Linked DNA regions of Homo sapiens: all the other regions are linked to region 3. Evidence: promoter capture Hi-C in human tissues and cell types (Jung and others, 2019). All regions are on one chromosome and are shown on one strand. The core of a region is centred on a gene start or on the middle of the fragment in contact, and the rest is flanking DNA. Distances in the headings are between cores, read along the strand shown.

Region 1 (3,534 bases), core at 851-3,350, 240 kb after region 3:
AACATGCTTTCTTTACTATTCCTTTACACCCTTCATCCCAGCCTCTCTTCACTTTCACTTGGACTGACCCTGACACCCATCAGTCCCAGCAACTTACCTGGGCTGTACTGCCACAAGGCTTCAGGGACAGCCCCCATTACTTCAGTCAAGCCCTTTCTCATGATTTACTTTCTTTCTGTCCATCTGCTTCTCACCTTATTCAAAATTTTGACAACCTTCTCCTTTATAGCCCACCCTACAAGTCTTCCCAACAGGGCACCCTCCTGCTCCTCCAACATCTATTCTCAAAAGGATATTGCATATCCCCCTCCAAAGCCCAAATTTCTTCCTCATCCGTTACCTATCTCAGCACCTTTCTTCATAAAAACACACGTGCTCTCCCTGCTGATTGTGTCCGGCTAATCTCCCAAACCCCAACCCCTTCTACAAACAACAACTCCTTTCCTTCCTAGGCATGGTTAAGGTACTTTCTCCTTTGGATATCTGGTTTTGCCATCCTGACTAAACCATTATATAAACTCACAAAAGGAAACTTAGCTGACCCCATAAATCCTAAATCCTTTCCCCATTCCCCTTTCCATTCCTTAAAAAACAACCCTAAAAGCTGCTCTCCCTAACTCATCCCAACCCTTTTCATTACACACAGCTGAAGTACAGGGCTGTGCAGTCAGAATTCTTACACAAGAGCTGGGACTGCACCCTGTAGCCTTTCTGTCCAAACAACTTGACCTTACTGTTTTAGACTAGCCCTCATCTCTGTGTGCAGCAGCTGCTGCTGCTCTAATACTTTTAGAGGCCTTCAAAATCACAAACTATGCTTAACTCACTCCCTACAGTTCTCATAACTTCCAAAATCTATTTTCTTCCTCACACCTGATGCATATACTTTCTGCCCCTGGCTCCTTCAGCTATATTCACTCTTTGTTGAGTCTGCAACGATTACCATTGTTCCTGGCCCGGACTTCAATCCAGCCTCCCACATTATTCCTGATACCCCACCTGACCCCCATAACTGTATCTCTCTGATCTAACTTGTATTCACTCCATTTCCCCATATTTCCTTCTTTCCTGTTCCTCACCCTGATCACACTTGGTTTATTGATGGCAGTTCCACCAAGCCTAATCACCAATCACTAGCAAAGGCAGGCTATGCTATAGTATCTTCCACATCTATCATTGAGGCTACTGCTCTGCCCCACTCCACTACCTCTCAGCAAGCCAAACTCATTGCCTTAACTCGAGCCCTCACTCTTGCAAAAGGACTACGCATCAATATTTATACAGACTCTAAATATGCCTTCCATATCCTGCACCATCATGCTGTTATATGGGCTGAAAGAGGTTTCCTCATTACACAAGGGTCCTCCATCATTAATGCATCTTTAATAAAAACTCTTCTCAAGGCCGCTTTACTTCCAAAGGAAGCTGGAGTCATTCACTGCAAGGGCCATCAAAAGGCATCAGATCCCATTGCTTAGGGCAACGCTTATGCTGATTAGGTAGCTGAAGAAGCAGCTAGCATTCCAACTTCTGTCCCTCATGGCCAGTTTTTCTCCTTCTCATCAGTCACTCCCACCTACTCTCCCACTGTAACTTCCACCTATCAATCTCCTCTCACACAAGGCAAATGGTTCTTGGACCAAGGAACATATCTCCTTCCAGCCTCACAGGCCCATTCTATTCTGTCATCTTTTCAGAACCTCTTCCATGTAGGTTACAAGCCACTAGCCTGCCTCTTAGAACCTCTCATTTCCTTTCCATCGTGGAAATCTATCCTCAAGGAAATCACTTCTTAGTGTTCCATCTGCTATTCTACTACTACTCAGGGATTGTTCAGGCCCGCTCCCTTCCCTACACATCAAGCTCAGGGATTTGCCCCTGTCCAGGACTGGCAAATTGATTTACTTACATGCCCTGAGTCAGGCAACTAAAATACCTCTTGGTCTGGGTAGACACTTTCACTGGATGGATAGAGGCCTTTCCCACAGGATCTGAGAAGGCTACCGCAGTCATTTCTTCCCTTTTTCCAGACATAATTCCTTGGTTTGGCCTTCCTACCTCTATACAGTCTCATCACAGACCAGCTTTTATTAGTCAAATCACCCAAGCAGTTTCTCAGGCTCTATTCAGTGGAAGCTTCATACCCCTTACCGTCCTCAATCTTCAGGAAAGGTAGAACGGACTAATGGTCTTTTAAAGACACACCTCACCAAGCTCAGCCTCCAACTTAAAAAGGACTGGACAGTACTTTTACCTCTTGCCCTTCTCAGAATTAGAGCCTGTCCTCGAGATGCTACAGGGTACAGTCCATTTGAACTTTTATATGGATGCACTTTCTTGCTCGGACCCAACCTTGCCCCAGACACCAGCCCTCTAGGCGACTATCTTCCAGTCTTCCAGCAGGCTAGACAGGAAATTTGCCAGGCTGCTCATCTTCTCTTGCCTACTCCAGATTCCCAGCCATATGAAGACACCCTAGCTGGATGATAAGTTCTTGTTAAAAATCTGACCCTTCAAACTCTACAACCTCGATGGACTGGACCCTACTTAGTCATCTCTAGTACCCCAACTGCTGTCCGCCTGCAGGACCCTCCCCATTGGGTTCACCATTCCAGAATAAAGCTTTGTCTGTCAGACAGACAGCCTGATCTCTCCTCTTCCTCCTGGAAGTCGCAAGTACTCAACCCTACTTCCCTTAAACTCACCCGCATTCCTAAATGATAATAGTAACCCTTATAAGCCTAATACATCCTATCATTTTTATTAGGTCTCTTCGTCCTTACCCTACTCTTCCCAACAAAGCTTTACGCATTCACCCCTCCCACTTGGATTGCACCCCAAAAACTTGTCATCCCTACTATCTTCTGTCTAGTCATATTCCTATTCACCATTCTCAACTACTCATAAGTGTCGTGCCCCTGTTTACACTGCCAGTTTACATTTTTCCTCCAAACCATCACAGCGGATATCTCCTAGTACTATCCCCAATCCGCCACTCTTGACTCCCTCTTGGAGTGGATAGATGATCTTTGCTCACAGGGCACACTCCAATACTTTCACCCTGATGAAGTCCTATTCTTTACTTTTACACTCACTCTTATTCTCATTCCCGTTCTTGTGCCACCCTCTACCTCTCCCCAGCTACCTCCACCACACTATCAATCTCACTCACTCTCTCCTAGCCGTTTCTAAACCTTCTTTAACAAACGATTGTTGGCTTTGCATTTCTTTTTCCTCCAAAATCGCCGAGGCTTTGACTTACTGCTAAAAAAAAAGGGGACTCTGTATATTTTTTAAAAGAAGAGTGTTGCTTTTACCTAAATCAATCTGGCCTGGTATATGACAACATCAAAAACTCAAGGATTGAGCCCAAAAACTCACCAACCAAGCAAATAATTACACTGAACCCCCTTGGGCACTCTCTAATTGGATGTCCTGGGTCCTCCCATTTCTTAGTCTTTTAATATCTGTTTTTCTCCTTCTCTTATTTGGACCTTGTGTCTTCTGTTTAGTTTCTCAATTCATACAAAACTG
Region 2 (3,949 bases), core at 140-2,639, 200 kb before region 3:
CTGGGTTCAAGCGATTCTCCTCCCTCAGCCTCCTGAGTAGCTGGGATTACAGGTGCCTGCCACCATGCCCAGCTGATTTTTGTATTTTTAGCAGAGATGGGGTTTCACCATGTTGGCTAGGTTGGTCTTGAACTCCTGACCTCAAGTGAGCCTGCCTCGGCCTCCCAAAGTGCTGGGATTATAGGCACGAGCCACCACACATGACTCAAAGGCTAAACTCTTGAGAGTGGGCCATGCTGCCCCAAGAAGCTCCACTGGATTTATTTGAAGGTCCTTGCCAAATCAGTTGGGGAAAAAAAGGCAGATTCAGCCCATGGATCCTTAAGTACCACTCGAAGAGTGGCATGCTTTTCCCAAATGTCACCTTTTGTCTTTAAGGCAAAGGTGGTGCCAGATCTTCAGCTCTCATGTCTCCTGCACAAACTCTCCCAGGCGTGAGAAGAGACTCCACTCTGCAGAAACTCTGTCTCTAAGGGGGAAGTGACAGTCAGAGAAGGGAACAGGGATATTACTGAGGCCAGAAGGCCCCTCTCCCCTCAGTGAGGCCCACGCTCGTGCCCAAAGCCTGTCTGTCTTCCTAAATAATGCAGTGTGGAAGAGTAGAGGCTTTGCAGCCAAGCAGACAGGATTTCATAACCCTGGTTCCAGTACTTCCCAGTGTGTGATCTTGGACCATCAACTGGGCCTCTGAACCTCAATCTCCTCCTCTATAAAAGTGGCACAATGGCCGCAGGCGGTGGCTCACGCCTGTAATCCCAGCATTTTGGGAGGCCGAGGTGGGCGGATCACTTGAGGTCAGGAGTTTGAGACCAGCCTGGCCAACGTGGCGAAACACTGTCTCTACTAAAAATACAAAAATTAGCCGGGCGTGGTGGTGGGCACCTGTAATCTCAGCTATTCAGGAGGCTGAGGCAGGAGAATCACTTGAACCCAGGAGGCGGAGGTTGCAGTGAGCCGAGATAGTGCCATTGCACTCCAGCCTGGGCAACAAGAGCAGAACTCTATCTCAAATAAAACCCAGAAAACCAAAAAAAAAAAAAAAAAAAAAAACCCAAAACAAAACAAAAAGAAAAAACAAAAACAACAACAACAAAAAATGGCACAGTAATAGCTTAATTCCCAAGCTTGTTCAGGATTTTGTGGGTCAGGAATGTGAAAAGGGTTTGACTGGATGTTCATTTCTGTTCCACGTGGCATCATGTGATGAGGGCTGGAGGACCCACCTCCAAGATGGCTTCTTCACTCCCATGTCTGGAAGCTTCAATTCTCCTGGGCCTTCTCACAGCTCCATGCTCTTAGGGGAGCTGCAATTCTTTTTTTATTATTTATTTATTTATTTATTTGAGACGGAGTTTCGCTCTGTCGCCTAGGCTGGAGTGCAGTGGCCGCGATCTGGGCTCACTGAAAGCTCCACCTCCTGGGTTCACACCATTCTCTTGCCTCAGTCTCCCGAGTAGCTGGGACTGCAGGCGCCTGCCACCACGCCCGGCTAATTTTTGTATTTTTAGTAGAGACGGGGTTTCACCGTGTTAGCCAGGATGGTCACGATCTCCTGACCTCGTGATCCGCCGCCTTGGCCTCCCAAAGTGCTGGGATTACAGGCGTGAGCCACCGCGCCCGGCTGGGGAGTTGCAATTCTTACACAGTAGCCTGGGAGCCAAAGAGATCACGACGGAATCTGCTGGTTCCCTTAAAATGTAGATCCAGGCCTGGCGGTGTCACTTGTTTGTTTGTTTGTTTGTTTGTTTAGACAGGGTCTCGTTCTGTCACCCAGGCTGGAGTGCAGCGGCGCCATCATAGCTCACCGCAGCCTCTACCTCCTAGGCTCAAGGGATCCTCTTGCCTCAGCCTCCCGAGTAGCTGGGACTACAGGTGCGGGCCACCACGCCAGCCTATTTTTAAAAGTTATATTTTTGGCCGGGAGTGGTGGCTCACGCCTGTAATCCCAACAGTTTGGGAGGCGGAGGTGGGTGGAAGTCGGGAGTTCAAGACCAGCCTGACCAACATGGATATACCCTGTCTCTACTAAAAATACAAAATTAGCCACGTGCGGTGGCGGACCCCTGTCATTCCAGCTACTCGGGAGGCTGAGGCAGGAGAATCGCTTGAACCCAGGAGGCGGAGTCTGTGGTGAGCCGAGATCACGCCATTGCACTCCAGCCTGGGCGACAAGAGCGAAACTCCGTCTCACAACAAAACAAAAAAGTTATTTTTAGTAGAGTTGGGGTCTTTCTGTGTTGCCCAGGTTGGTCTTGCAGTCTTGGGATCAAGCGATCCGCCCACCTCTGCTTCTCGGTGTTGGAATTACAGGCGTGAGCCGCCATGCCCAGCACAGTGTCACATCTGTCATATTCTATGGGTCAAAGCAGTCAAGGGTTCTTTCTCAATCAGACTAAGACCAACAGGAACAAGCTTATTGTATTAATTTGCTAGGGCAGCCTTAACAGACAAGAAGGGAGGTGAGTCGCCTTTTAGTTTAAGTAGATACGGTCATGCTATTCTCTAATTGGCCACCAGATGGCGCGCTGGACTTACTATTAGTACAGTTTGTAATTGCCCTTCCGAGAGTGGCCACCGCCACTCAAGCGACTGGACACTGGACTAAGTGCTTCTGTTAATTTGGATAAGACAAGACTCTCACTTTCTTTGATAAAATATAAATCTAGAAGAGCCCTAGGCTTTTATTGCATCATGATCATGGAAGGAGAGAAATGATCCTTTTCTGATTTGCCAGAGAAAACCAACCAGTATTTATTCTTTAGGAAATACAGAGATGCTATTTAACCTCCTGGTCACCATAGCAACAAATAATCAAGGAAGACAACCAATCAGAATGCAGGTTTCTTTGGGAGGTTCTTTTTTTTTTTTTTCAGATATTGCAACAATTTCTAAAAAAATCTTAGACTCTTTTGTTCAAATTATCCTTTCAAGGAAAGACACAAATGAACAGAGTTAACAAATGAGGCTGGTAACAGGAAAATTAACTGGAGCTCCTGGCTGCACGGGAGAACAGAATGAATGTTTAGGGTATGTTCTCAATGTGCCACTCTATTAAAATTGATTTTTTTTTTTTTTTTTTTTTTTTTTGTAGACAGAGTCTTGCTCTGTCACCCAGGCTGGAGTGCAGTGGCGTGATCTCGGTTCAATGCAAACTTCGCCTCCCAGGTTCAAGCGATTTTCCTGCCTCAGCCTCCCGAGTAGCAGGGATGATAGGTGCCTGCCACCACGCCCGGCTAATTTTTTTGTATTTTTAGTAGGGATGGAGTTTCACCATGTTGGCCAGGCTGGTCTCAAACTCCTGACTTCAAGTGATCCGCCCTCCTCGGCCTCCTAAAGTGAAAAAACTAATTATTTAGAGCAATTTCATGATGCAGAATAGAACCCCTTCCTATACAGCTGCAAGAGAGAACGGGCTTTTTTTTTTTTATGTTTGAAAGCACTGACTTTGCTAAGCGTGGTGGCTCATGCCTGTAATCCCAACACTGGGAATCTGAGATGGGAGGACCACTTAAGCCCAGGAGGCCAAGGCTGCAGTGAGCTATGTTTGCACCACTGCACTCCAGCCTGGGCAATGGAGTGAGACCCTGTCTCAAAAAAATGCAATAATTAAATATAATAAACACTTGAAACAAACTTTATAGGAACCACAGTCTCAAGATGAAGAGTTACATTCCAGAAAGAATCCACACAAGACCACTGGGCTTAACATTCTGTCTTATAGGCAAGCTTTTTGCTTACAATTCACCCAGGAAATAAACATGATATATATAGATCCAATGTCCATTCTTTGTTTTTATTTGTTTTTTTTTGTTTGTTTGTTTTTTGGAGACTGAGTCTCACTCTTGTCACCCAGGCTGGAGTGCAATGGTGAGATCTCAGCTCCCTGCAACCTCTGCCTCCCGGAGTCAAGCGATTCTCCTGCCTCAGCCTCCCGAGTAGCTGGGATTAC
Region 3 (3,629 bases), core at 165-2,664:
CTCTACTAAAAGTACAAAAATTATCTGGGCATGGTGGTGTGCGTCTATAATCCCAGCTACTCGGGAGGCTGAGGCAGGAGAATCGCTTGAACCAGGGAGGCGGAGGTTGCAGTGAGCCGAGATTGCGCCATTGCACTCTAGCCTGGGCAAAAAGAGCAAAACTCCCGTCTCAAAAAAAAAAAAAAAAAAAAAATTCCAAACTGGTCTTTGTAATGACTCACGGAGACCCTGCATGATCTGGCCTCTGTCCTAATCTCATCTTGTTATTGGTCTCCCCCTAAGTAGCCAAAGCCCCAGCCATGCCAGTACCCTTTCATTCCCCATCCCAGGGCCTTTGCACAGGCTGCTTTACCTCCCTGGAACACTCCTCTCCAGTTCTCCCTCTGTGAGTTTCAGCTTAAACGCCTCCTGCTCAGTAAGGCCTTCCCCCACTACCCTATCTAAAGTAGCCTCCAACCCTTATTCTCTACTTCATCACACTGCTGGTTTGCTTTCAAAGCACTCATCACAATTTAAGTATTTTACTTATTTACATGGTTTTTTTTTGTTTTTTTTTTTTTCATGTCTGGTTCACCTGCAAAATTACAAGCTAAGGACAGGGCCACATCTGTCTCATTCACTGCTATATCCCCAAAGTCAAGCACAGTCCTTGGCACATAACAGGTACTCAATAAATATTTGTTGAATTAATGAATGAATGGGTGCCCCACACTTGACTCTCAATATTCTAAGTGATACTATTCTTAAGGATCCCCACCCTTACTCCCAAGGCCCCCACCATCACATTCCTTTTCCTCGGGTCAGCCCAAATCTCCTACTTCCTTGTTCCCCCCATCTAATGATCCATTCCCCACCCCCACGATTGCCTTCTCTATTGGGGCTGTGCCCCCTCTACCCCCCACTTGGCGGCACCCACCCCAGGACTCCCCATTTGGTAGCGCCATCAATCACTCCCCCACCACATGTCACTGCCTGGTAGCGCCCTCTACAGGCCTCACGTTTGGTAGCGCCCTCATTCCAGTCCCCCTCTCGCCCCACAATTGGTGGCGCCCTCCTCAGTCTCTCCACTGAGTAGCACCCGCTCCGCACGCCACTCCTAGGTATCACTCTCCGAAGCCCCCTATGTCGCTCCTTGGCAGCGCCATCCTGGGCCTCCCCACGCCCGGTCACTTGGTAGTGTCTGCCCCGCGCCCAGGCTGCAGCTCCGCGTTGCTATGGTTCCGCGCGGGCCCGGCACCCCTCAGCCTGGGCCACTGTCCACCCTCCCTGCCAGGCGGGCGCACCTTTGAAGTAGTCATTGGCCTGAGTCTTGAGCTCCTCTGCCCGCTTCAGAGCTCCATCAGCCGGGGGTTCGTCCCGGGGGGGCTCAGCACACTCAGTCCTCTCGCCCTCCGCCATCGCCATGCCGCAAAGCGACCCCTACCCTGGCAACGGCCGCCAGCGGCACCCGGCCGAACCGTCGCGAAGGAGCGCCGGGTGGCCGCCGCCGCTGCCGCACAAGTGTCGTAAAGCGCGGGCCCTGAAGGCGCCCTTCACGCGCCTGCGCAGGTCCCTTTCGCCACAGAGCGCGCGGAGGACAAGGTGACCAGAGGTTCCCCAGACGGTACCCCTGGTAGAGAGAGCCAATAGGGAATGAGAGAAGGGGCGCGCGGGGAAACAGACCTGGTGTGGCCTCTCCTCCCAAAGTTACCGTGTTCCAAGGCTGTAAAAAGTTTCTCGGTTCTGAAAGTGGGATTTCCCCGCTGTCCTCTAGGGTTGGGGGGTGGGTTGTGAATGTCGCTGGCGGGTGTGGCTGTTTTGCAAGGCAGCGCCATGCCCTACGCGGAGCCGGACCCGGGCGTCGAGCCCTATTGTCGACTACCTGTGTGACCTTGAACAAATCTTCCCTTCCTCTCTAGGGTCTCAGTTACCCATCTCTGAAAAATTAGTGGTTTCTCAAGCCAAAAAGGGTCCAACCTTGAGGGTCAGTGTTTGAGTTTTTAACTGAAGGCACTCTGGATTTCAAGTCCTGAGCAAGGCTTAGAAGTGTGTTGCACCATCTCCTTTCTTCCTGTGTTCAGCTTCCCAAATCCTGAATCTTCAAATAAACTCTCCTGTTTGTGTTTTTACAGATTCTCTTGTCTGAGATCACAGCATTGATTGCATGCACTCTGCCTCCCTCCAGTTTACCCTTCACATTTTTTTTTTTTTTTTTTTTTTTTTGAGAGGGAGTCTCCCTCTGTCGCCCAGGCTGGAGTGCAGTGGCGCCATCTAGGCTCACTGCAACCTCCGCCTCCCGGTTTAAGCGATTCTTCTGCCTCAGCCTCCCAAGTAGCTGGGATTACAGGCGCCCGCCACCATGCCCGGCTAATTTTTGTATTTTAGTAGAAACGGGTTTCACCACGTTGGCCAGGCTGGCCTCGAACTGCCGACCTCAAGCTATCCGCCCGCCTCGGCCTCCCAAAGTGCTGGGATTACAGGCGTGAGCCACCGTGCCCGGCCGAGGGATCTTTCTAAGACATGATAAAACCATGGCACACTCTCGCTCCCAGGCTTCCATGGCCCCAGCACCCTTAGGAGAAAACCCAAACTCCTGATTAGGAGACCCTGAATAGTCTTAACCTCAGGCTGAATAGTCTAATATCCAGATTCCACCCCTTTGCCAATCCCCACCCGCCGTACACGCTTCCAGTCTGTCCTTTCTAAGCCCTCATGTAGCACTAAGTCCTGTAAGGCTCTGGATCCCCTCCTGGAAGCACACTCCTAAACCTATCTATCCCACTCCCAAACCTCTTGTTAGTCCAACCCCATCTCTCCTACTGGCCCCCAGCACAACCAACAATCACCCTAAAGGGCAGATATTAGTATCATCTCCATTTTACAGATAAAGACACAGACTTGCAGAGGTGTTTGACGAAGGTCACAACAACATAAGAAGGTGACAGAGCCAGGATCAGGAATCCCATCTAATTCCTATGTCCTTCATTGCCACTCTACTGCCTCTGTAGGTGCCAGAGCCCATCTTGGTGGGTTAGTAAATTTTTCTTTTGTTTGTTCGTATTGTTTGTTTTGGGGTTGGGGGAAAAGGAGCTGCCATAGTGGATTTGAATTCTGGTTTCGAGTCCAGCGGAATCCTTCCTGACACTGTGACCTTGGGCAAGTGATCACCCTCTTCTAAGCCTCAGTTTCAACCTCTGTAAAGTGGGGATAATAATTATCCCCATCATACAGGATTAGAGGAGAGTTCGACAACATGAGTACAGCATTTGTCAGGGAGCCTGACACAGAGTAGTACTTTTATATTCACTCCATCACAAATACTCAAAGTGGGCTGGGTATGGTAGCTCATGCCTGTAATCGAAGCACTTTGGGAGGCCAAAGCAGGCAGATCACTTGAGGTCAGAAGTTCAAGACCAGCCTGGCCAACATGGCAAAACCCCGTCACTACCAGAAATACAAAAATTTAGCTGGGCATGATGGTGCGCACCTATAGTCCCAGTTATTAGGGAGGTTGAGGCAGGAGAATTGCTTGAACCTAGGAGGCGGAGGCTGCAGTGAGCCGAGATCGCGCCACTGCACGACAGCCTGGGCTACAGAGTGAGACTCTGTCTCAAAAAACAAATAAAACAAAACAAATATTCAGAGTTGGG

What was found. Contacts are between HindIII fragments. The study calls those that stand out against the background at their distance.
Region 1: a contact is called between a fragment that was not itself captured here and the fragment with the promoter of PPP5C in region 3, in 2 of the 25 tissues and cell types used here (IMR-90 fibroblasts and liver).
Region 2: a contact is called between a fragment that was not itself captured here and the fragment with the promoter of PPP5C in region 3, in 4 of the 25 tissues and cell types used here (H1 embryonic stem cells, aorta, dorsolateral prefrontal cortex and 1 more).

The regions. Positions count from the first base shown.
Region 1 is chr19:46,103,002-46,106,535 of GRCh38, reverse strand. It overlaps a transcript of IGFL2 not described here. Among named protein-coding and RNA genes, the nearest start is that of IGFL3, 20 kb to the left of the region's middle. The HindIII fragment of the contact is 4,668 bases long and covers 1-3,534 here.
Region 2 is chr19:46,541,434-46,545,382 of GRCh38, reverse strand. It overlaps the pseudogene PPP5D1P. Among named protein-coding and RNA genes, the nearest start is that of PNMA8B, 48 kb to the right of the region's middle. The HindIII fragment of the contact is 3,360 bases long and covers 1-3,069 here.
Region 3 is chr19:46,344,872-46,348,500 of GRCh38, reverse strand. PPP5C (protein phosphatase 5 catalytic subunit) reads right to left here and starts at 1,414. Exons shown (of 13, transcript NM_006247.4): 1 at 1,284-1,414. The coding sequence starts at 1,404. RefSeq lists enhancers at 1,167-1,296, 1,397-1,576. The HindIII fragment of the contact is 31,019 bases long and covers 1-3,629 here.